2 separate regions of the Homo sapiens genome follow, and region 1 is linked to region 2. Evidence: promoter capture Hi-C in 16 types of primary human blood cells and fetal thymus (Javierre and others, 2016). All regions are on one chromosome and are shown on one strand. The core of a region is centred on a gene start or on the middle of the fragment in contact, and the rest is flanking DNA. Distances in the headings are between cores, read along the strand shown.

Region 1 (4,540 bases), core at 289-2,788, 170 kb before region 2:
CCATGACCGGCTAAGTTTTTTAATTTTAGTAGAGACAAGGTCTCCCTGTGTTGCCCAAGTTTGTCTCAAACTCCTGGCCTTCAGTGATTCTCCCGCCAGGAAATCCCAAAGTGCTAAGATTACACTTAACCAGTGTACCCAGCCACAATATGCATCTTTTTTTTTTTTTTTTTTGATACAGAGTCTCGCTCTGTCACCCAGGCTGGAGTGCAGTGGCGCAATCTTGGCTCACTGCAACCTCTGCTTCCCAGGTTCAAGTGATTCTCCTGCCTCAGCCTCCCAAGTAGCTGGGATTACAGATGCGCACCACCACGCCCATCTAATTTTTGTATTTTTAGTAGAGACAATGTTTTGCCACTTTGGCCAGGCTGGTCTCTAACTGGCCTCAAGTGATCCACCTACCTCAGCCTCCCAAAGTGCTGAGATTACAGGTGTGAGCCACCACGCCCGCCCACAATATGCATCTTAATTTATCACAATCTACTCCAGATTACTACTGACTTAATTCCAGTAAAATATACAAACTTTGCTCCGCAGGAGCTCCATTTCCTTCTTTCTCCTTTGTACTATTATTGTCCTATATATAATTACATTTGTATATGTTACAAACCAATAATATGTTTTAATTACTGCTTTATACAGCTTTATAATTTCTAGAGCAAATAAAAGAGAAAAATGTATTTATACAGTGCCTGCCTGCCTGCCTTCTTTTCTTTCTTTTCCTTTTCCTCTCTCTCTCTTTCTCTCTCTCTCTCTTTCTCTTTTCCTTTTCCTTTTCTTTTCCTTTTTCTTTTCCTTTTTTTGAGACAGAGTCACACTCTGTTGTCCAGGCTAGAGTGCAGTGGCACAATTTTGGCTCACTTCAACCTCCACCTCCCAGGTTCAAGCAGTTCTCCTGCCTCAGCCACCTGAGTAGCTGGGATCACAGGCAAGCACCATGGCACCCGGCTAATTTTTGTATTTTTGGTGGAGATGACATTTCGCCATGTTGGCCAGGCTGGTCTCAAACTCCTGACTTCAGGTGACCTACCCGCCTTGGCCTCCCAAAGTGCTGGGATTACAGGCATGAGCTACCACGCCTGGCCTGTATTTATACAGTGTTTTCTATTTGCTAGCTGGCTAGTCATTTCTGGCATTCTTCATTTTAAATTCTGCCGAATTTAAGTTACCGTCTTGTTTTTACCTTCCTTTAATATGTCTTACAGGACCAGTTTGCTAGCAGTTAATTCTGTTTTTGTGTAAATGTCTTTATTTTGCCTTCATTTTAAAAAATAGACCAGGCATGGGGGTGTCTCACGCCCAGCACTTTGGGAGGCAGAGGCGGGCAGATCACCTGAGGTCAGGAGTTCGAGACCAGCCTAGCCAACGTGGTGAAACCCCATCTCTTCTAAAAATACAAAAATTAGCCAGGCGTGCTATCATGTGCTTGTCATCCCAGCTACTTGGGAGGCTGAGGCATGAGAATTGCTTGAACCCGGGAGGCAGAGGTTGCAGTGAGACAAGATCGCGCCATTGCGCTCCAGCCTAGGCGAGAAGTGAGACTCCGTCTCAACAATAAATAAATAAATAATAAATAGAGTGGTTGTTTTTAGGAATAGCTTTAGACTCACAGCAAAGTTGAGTGAGAGCTACAGAGACACCCTATACCCAGGGTCCCCACACACAGCCTTCCCACTATCAAATTCCACACCAGAGTGTTACTCTTGTTACAGTCATCAGCTGTCAGACTGTTAGAACAAGCAGTCAGTTCTCCTGGCAGCCTGGCTTTCTCAAGAAGGTGTTTTAGTAGGGTCTGGGGTCATCCTAGGGACTTGGCCTTTGGCTGCAGGAAGCCTTAGGTGGTCATTGTGTGCCAGAGTTCTGCAGCTCTCAGTATCTCTTTGTTTTTATCCATCTTAAGGTTCACTGAGCTTCTTGGATCTGTAGACCAATGTTTCTCATCACATTTGGGAAGTGGAGTGTCCAGGTGTTATTTGGATGCTCTTCCCCCTTTCCTCTGGGACTTGGTTCTGCACATGCTGGAGTGCTGGCTGCTCTCCCACAGGCCTCTGAGCGTCTGCATACTTTCCCCTCATCTCTTCTCTCTCTTCCTAGATCAGTTCCATTGCTCTTCTTCAAGTTCACAGATGATTTTTCTGCCATTTTAAGTTTGCTTTTGAGCCCCTTTAGTGAAATTTTGGTTTAGCTATTGTACTCTTCACCTATAGAATTTATATTTTACTGTTTTTTTGTTTCTCTTTTTTTGTAGTAATTCCCTATATGTTGAATCTTTATTTTCATATTTTCCTTTAATTCTCTGAACATGTTATAACAGCTGCTTTGACATCTTTGTGTGCTAATTTAGTATCTGAACTCACTCCTGTTAACCGTTTGACTATTTATTTCCTGCATGTGGGTCACACTTTTTTTTTTCCAGACAAGGTCTTGCTCTGCCACCCAGGCTGAAGTGCAGTGGCATGATTACAGCTCACTGGAGCCTCGAGCCTGGACCTCCTGGGCTCAAACAATCCTCCCACCTCAGCCCCCCAAGTACTTGGGACTACAGGCACACACCACCATGCCTGGATAGTTTTTGTACTTTTTGTAGAGACAGGGTTTTGCCATGTTGCCCAGACTAGGCTTGAACTCTTGGGCTCAAGTGATCTTCCCACCTCTGCCTCCCAAAGTGTTGGGATTACAGGTGTGAGCCACTGCGCCCAGCCTAGGTCATACTTCTCTTTAATCTTTGCTTGTCTCATAATTTTTTGTTGAAAATTGGACATTTTAAATAATGTGATAATTTTGCATTATCATTTTTTCCCTTGAGGGTCCTTTGTTGTCTTTTGTTTGTTTCCTTGTTTTTGTTATTTCCTGGGCTTCAGTTGCAGGACCTGTATCTCCCACATTATGTGGCTGTGGGTGTCTCAGCTTACTTCTTCTCTTCTCCTTTTTAGTTTGGCTTCTAGAGGTCTGCCCTTTGTCCACCTGGCTGATTGGCCAGCTGATGATTTGGGCAGAGGTTGCCCATGCACCTTGAATCCACAGGGGCTCCATTGTTGGCTGTGGGGTGAATGCGCTCAGCACTCAGCCAGTTCTCAAGTCAGCTGTGTTGGCCCCTTCCTCCAGCCCGTGAGGTGTCCTCAGTGCATGCACTGTGCTCTCCTGGTCAGCCAGCGAGTTGTGGACAGCTTAAGAAGCCCTTCCGTGGCGCTCTCATTTCCAGGGTTCTCTCTGTTAGATTTCTGTCTCCTTTGCCACTCACCCCAGTTGGGACCTCAGTCTCAAGGGAACAGAGCTGCAGGCTTCCCTATTCATTCCCTTCTAAGTTCACTGCTTTTACTGCTTCACCCTCTGCCTGACCAGGCTGCTGTTTTTGGTAGCAGGGTTGGTTTGCGCTGACATCCCTGCAGTCACAGAACTCCTGTGCCCACTGCCGACCGAGTCAGGGGTGGAGTACAGGTGCAGGAAATGGAAAGAGTCCCAGACAAGAAAGCCAGACTTGCTGTTCTTCCTTGAAGTTCTAGCTGATTTGCATGAATAAATGTGTCGCGGTATTTTCCTTGGGCTGATTTCCAGAGCCTCAGAATGGTTGCCTTTGACAATTGTGTTCAGTTTTACATTTGCCCTGAGGGAAAGGAGCCACTGACCTCTTCACTCCACCGTAACCGGAAGTCGCGTCTCTGCTTTGTTTTGGAGAATCCATGTGTGACTACTTAGAAGCAGTGTGAGCCCAGTGGAGCACAGCCATCCCCTCTCTACTCTGTCGTCTTCACTAGTTCCCTTGTCCCTGCTCACATGTGGGAAGAGAGATTTTCTGCATAGGCATAGGATTCAGAACCAGTGGCTCTACCTGAGTCTGTCTGTGGAATGAGGTACACCTTTCTTCTCTGTGCGTCTTCTTCAGTCTCAGTCTCTTGGGGTCCCTCGTTTTCCTTGCATGGAAGGCCCTGGTCAACTCAGGGTGTCAGGAAAAGCCCACTTACCTTTGTATTTGCTTTGTAACTACTTGGCAGAATGTGACTGACTTTAATTCATACCATTTATTGTTTCACTAAATAGGTATGTTTTTTTTCTTTCCTCTTAGGCTGAACAAGCTCCAAACACTTGTGAATGTCATGTTTGTAAGCAGGAAGCTTCTGGACTGACACCATCTGCAATGACAGCCGGAGCCCTTCCTCCTGGCCATCAGTTCTTGAGCCCAGAGAAGCCCACACACCCTGCACTGCACCTTTACCCTCACATCCATGGACATGTGCCTTTGCACACTGTTCCACACCTGCCACGCCCTCTCATCCACCCCACCTTGTATGCAACGCCCCCCTTCACACACAGTAAGGTAAGTCAGGGCAAAAAGGGTCTGAAAGCTCACTCTTCACTGAGATCCTACAGGAGTACATAGTCAAACAAAGAAATCTGTGAATTAGCAACTTGCATAGGATAGCATCTGCTCTGGATAGGAAGGTCTCCAAGTGTTTCCTTTCACCATAATCTCTTAAGCACTGTAATTGTGAACCTTTACAGTTGTAACAATCATTAAAAACAACTGTGAAGGTCATAGTTC
Region 2 (4,371 bases), core at 1,555-4,054:
AGCATTTTGTCCATTGTGTATTTAATGTAATTAAATCTACCATCTTATTTTATGCTACATATTGTCTCACTTGTGTTTGTGTTTTCTTCCTCCCTTTTCTCTCCTTTTCCCCTTCTTTGAGATTGAGCAACTTAAAACAAATCATTTCATTTCCCCCCTTCTCCTAGTTAGAAAGTTAAACACTCTCTATTCTTACTGAAGTCTAGAGTTAACTAATAAATACTTTTATCCTCCTCCTGGACAACATAAGGACCTCAGGTGACTTTCATTGGTCTCCCTCATTACTTGATATTATTGTTGTATATATCTAATTCTAACTCAATGTATTTTAAAACTCTCACCTAAGACCGTATTTGTTTTTTTGTTTTTTTTTTTTTGGAGGCAGAGTCTCTGTCACCCAGGCTGGAGTGCAGTGGCGCCATCTTGGCTCATTGCAACCTCCATCTCCTGGGTTCAAGCAATTCTTGTGCCTCAGCCTCCTGAGTAGCTGGAATTACAGGTGCCTGCCACCAGACCCAGCTAATTTCTTGTATTTTTAGTAGAGACAGTGTTCTGCCATGTTGTCCATGTTGATCTCTTAACTCCTGAGCTCAGGCAATCCTCCCGCCTTGGCCTCCCAAATTGCTAGGATTACAGGCAAGAGCCACCACGCCTGGACCTTTTTACTTTTTTGTAGTTGGAAAAGGAAGGAATATTTTAATAGCTTTAAAATTGTTTTATTATGATAAAATTTTCATATTATAAAGTTTATCATTTTAATTATTTTAAAGTGTACAGTTCTGTGGCTTTGCGAATATTCATATTATTGTTCAGTCATCACCACCATCCATCTCCAGAACTTTTTCATCACCCCAAGCTTAAACTCTGTACCCATTAAACACTAAATCCCCATTCCTCCAGCCCTTTGCAACCACCATTCTACCTCCTGTCTCTCTGAATTTGACTACTCTAGACACCTCATACAAGTGGAATCATACATTTATCTTTTTGTGATTGGGTTATTTCACATAGCATGTCTTCAGTGTTCATCCATGTTGTAGCATGCGTCAGAATTTCCTTTCTTTTGGCCAGGCATCGTGGTTTATGGGTTTATGCCTGTAATCCCAGCACTTTGGGAGGCTGAGTTTGGATTTGGGAAGATTGCTTGAGCCTAGGAGTTTGAGACCAGCCCTGGCAACATAGTGAGATCCCGTCTCTACAAAAAATAACAAAAATTAGCCAGGCATGTTGGCACGTGCTGGTAGTCCCAGCTACTTGGGAGGCTGAGGCAGGAGGATCCCTTGAGCCTAGGAGGTCAAGGCTGCAGTGAGCCATGGTTGCAACACTGCACTGCAGCCTGGGCGACAGAGACCCTGACTCCAAAAAAAAAAAAAAAAAAAAAAAAAAGGCACAAAACCCCAATAAATAGAATTTCCTTCTCTGCATAATGCTGCTATGAACATGGTACAAATAGCTGTTTTCATTTCTTTGGGGTATATATCCAGAAGTGGAATTGCTGGATTATGTGGTAATTATGTTTAATTTTTTGAGGAACCACTCTACGGTTTTCCACAGCAGCCACACCATTTTACATTCCCGTCAGCGATGCACAAAGGGTTCCAATTTCTCCGCATCTTTGCCAACACTTATTTTCTTTTTTTCCTCTTCTTCCTCCTTCTCCCCCCTTGAAACTTTTTGTTTTCTTCTCGTTTTTGTAGAGAACAGGGTCTCCTTATGTTGTCCAGTCAAGTCTGCCAACTCCTGGGCTCAGGCTATCCTCCTGTTTCTGCCTCCCTAAGTGCTGGGATTTTAGGCTGAAGCCACTGCGCCCAACTCCCTGCTTCTTCAACTGCCATCCTAATGAATGTTAAGTGGTATCCCACAGTGGTTTTGATTTGCGTTTCCCTAGTGATTAACTATGGGAAGCAGAAGTGAATGAGACAGAATTGTGATCTTGTCAGAAAAATCGTCTTGGAAAAGCCAACGTCCAACAGAAATGGTTAGAACAGGGGTCGCTGGCTTCCATCCAGACAGTATCCCTGACCCTTGTTGGGGCAATGTCACAGAGGCTCCTGCTGAGCAGGGAGGTCTGGATTCCACACTCTTCTGCCACTGCCCAGCTCTGGACCTAAGCTTTCTATGGGTGTCAAGAGGACAAGCAGCCGTGCCCATTTGTCTCGCTGCTTGTTTTTTTGGGTGTCAGATGCGCCAGCAGGAGGGACAGTGTGCGGGAAGGTGCTGGTCTGAGGCTGGTCCTGCCAAAGCCCCGCAGGCTCACTCCCTGGTCGTGCGGAGGTGGCTGGTGCTCGCTGGTCTCCTCAGCACCCGCAGGCCGGGCCCGGGGGCCAGGCAGTTGTCCTCTGTGGAGCCTTATCGGGGCCCACAGGCCCTGCTGCCTTGACCCCACCCGGGCCCCAAAACTCGGCCTGGGGACTGCACAAGGCGGGGCTACGCGGGGCAGGGCCCGTCTGCTGGGGGAGTGCGCTGGGCGGCGGCGGGAGGGCAGGGTCCCTGGGCTCCGACAGCCCCTCCGGCGGAGGTCAATCACAATGAAACCGTGTCCAGCGGACCCGGCAGGGGCTCGCCGCAGTCTACCTGGCCACCGTGAAGCCATGACCTGGCGCCCGAAGCTGCCGGCCGGGGTGTACTCCGCGCGGGACCCTGGGCCTCCGCAGGCCCCGGCGGGGTCGCCCCGAGGCGGGCCTGGCGAGTCCAATCGCCCTGCCCGCAGGGGACCCGCCCCTCATGGGTCCCGCCAATCGCAGGGTACGTTGCTCGGCAGTGCTGCGCGGCTTGGCCTATGGGACGGCGCGTTGTTGGGCTGCAGCGCCGCAGGCCGCACCCAGGTCGGGCGGTGGGGGCGAGCGGAGGGGCTGAGGGGCGGAGAGGCCTGGCGGGCCGCTGCTGCGGGCCAGGGGACGGGGGCGGAGCCGGAGCCGGAGCCGACGGGCGGTGGCCGCACTGGGACCCCGGAATCCCGCGCGCTGCCCACGATTCGCTTCTGAGGTGAGGCTAGCTAGCGGGGGCGGCGGGGGCCCGGTTCGGGCTGAGGCGGCGGCGGGGGCGCGGGGAACTGGGCCGCGGTTGCGGCGGGCGGGGGCCGCGGGGCCTGCGGCGGCCCGGGCAGCCTCGGGGGCGGGGAGGCCGCTGCGGCGCCGAGGGCGTCTTGGAGGGGTCCCCGCGGGGCCTTCGGCCTGGGCCGAGCCGGGGAGCGAGGGCGCCGCAGATCTTTCATCGGGATAGGACCCCGGGGACTAGGCTTTTCCCGGGCCGCTCGTTCCTGGCCGGCTTGTGGGCTGCAGGGGTGGGGGCGGAGGAGGACGACCCTGGCTGGACGCTGGTCAGCATCCTGCTTGTGAGACCGGTTCCGCGGTCCGCAGCGCTGGTGGCTGCAAGGTTTGTGTACGGACGCATCTGTCGGCTCTCGTATTTAAAAACGACGGCTTCTGCCAAAAGAGAAAAGCCATATCTGCCGACGGACGCTCGAGAGATAATCGTGGAACTTTATCAGCGATGGGGCTGTTGGTCACCTTTGCCCTCCCTCTCTTTTCTTTTTTCTTAATCTTTTATTTTCGTTTTTTGGGAGATGTCAGAGGGCCTTTCCCTGTTAGGATGACTTTTATCTTTGCTCTTGTAATGGCTCAAGATAGTTGGGAGGTAATTTGCATTCACTTTATGCATACCCACCTTGAAAAACGTATTTTGGTTCGCCTGAAACTGTTGTTGGTTTGAGCATAATTTATGTTTAGAAAGACAAAAAGCAATTGTCATATCTCCAAAGACCAAAGACATAGCTGATAGCTGTATGCATTACTGGTAAGTTAAAGAAAGATTTTTTGTGTGAAAAATTGACTGAGATCTTAATGGGGATAGGAAATAGAATGCTGATAGGTCGACTGTGTCTATGAGTAGAGGCGCCTAGTGAAAACAAGCTTGGAGTGGATGAGTAGGAGTTCAACAGGCACCAGAGAGAGGAGGGCATTTCAGGCAGAGGGTGTGAATTGTATGAAAGTGAGTTTGTAAACTTTGGAGCCTTGAATGGACAAAGGCCCGCGATGATACCTTTTTTTTTTGAGACGGAGTCTCGCTCTGTCGCCAGGCTGGAGTACAGTGGCGCGATCTCCAGTCACTGCAATCTCCGCCTCCCAGGTTCAAGCAATTCTCCTACCTCAGCCTCCCGAGTAGCTGGGACTACAGGCGCGCGCCACCACGCCCAGCTAATTTTTGTATTTTTAGTAGAGACGGGGTTTCACCATGTTGGCCAGGATGGTCTCAGTCTCTTGACCTCGTGATCCGTCCGCCTAGGCCTCCAAAAGTGCTGGGATTACAGGCGTGAGCCACCGCGCCTGGCCTACGTTAAAATTTTAATATACTCCTTTGATTTTGACAGTG

What was found. Contacts are between HindIII fragments. The CHiCAGO score rates a contact against its expected background, and 5 or more counts as called.
Region 1: a fragment that was not itself captured here is called in contact with the fragment with the promoter of ADD1 in region 2 in 2 of 17 cell types (naive B cells and activated CD4 T cells); the score reaches 6.0 in naive B cells.

What each region holds. Positions count from the first base shown.
Region 1 is chr4:2,668,058-2,672,597 of GRCh38, forward strand. FAM193A (family with sequence similarity 193 member A) reads left to right here. Exons shown (of 21, transcript NM_001366318.2): 13 at 4,064-4,315. Among named protein-coding and RNA genes, the nearest start is that of TNIP2, 86 kb to the right of the region's middle. RefSeq lists an enhancer at 3,151-3,695. The HindIII fragment of the contact is 5,143 bases long and covers 1-4,110 here.
Region 2 is chr4:2,841,040-2,845,410 of GRCh38, forward strand. ADD1 (adducin 1) reads left to right here and starts at 2,805. Exons shown (of 16, transcript NM_001354761.2): 1 at 2,805-2,985. It overlaps SH3BP2 (SH3 domain binding protein 2), which reads left to right. Exons shown (of 13, transcript NM_001122681.2): 13 at 1-57. RefSeq lists an enhancer at 1,577-2,088 and silencers at 2,217-2,266, 2,367-2,746, 2,807-2,996, 3,117-3,266. The HindIII fragment of the contact is 1,799 bases long and covers 2,111-3,909 here.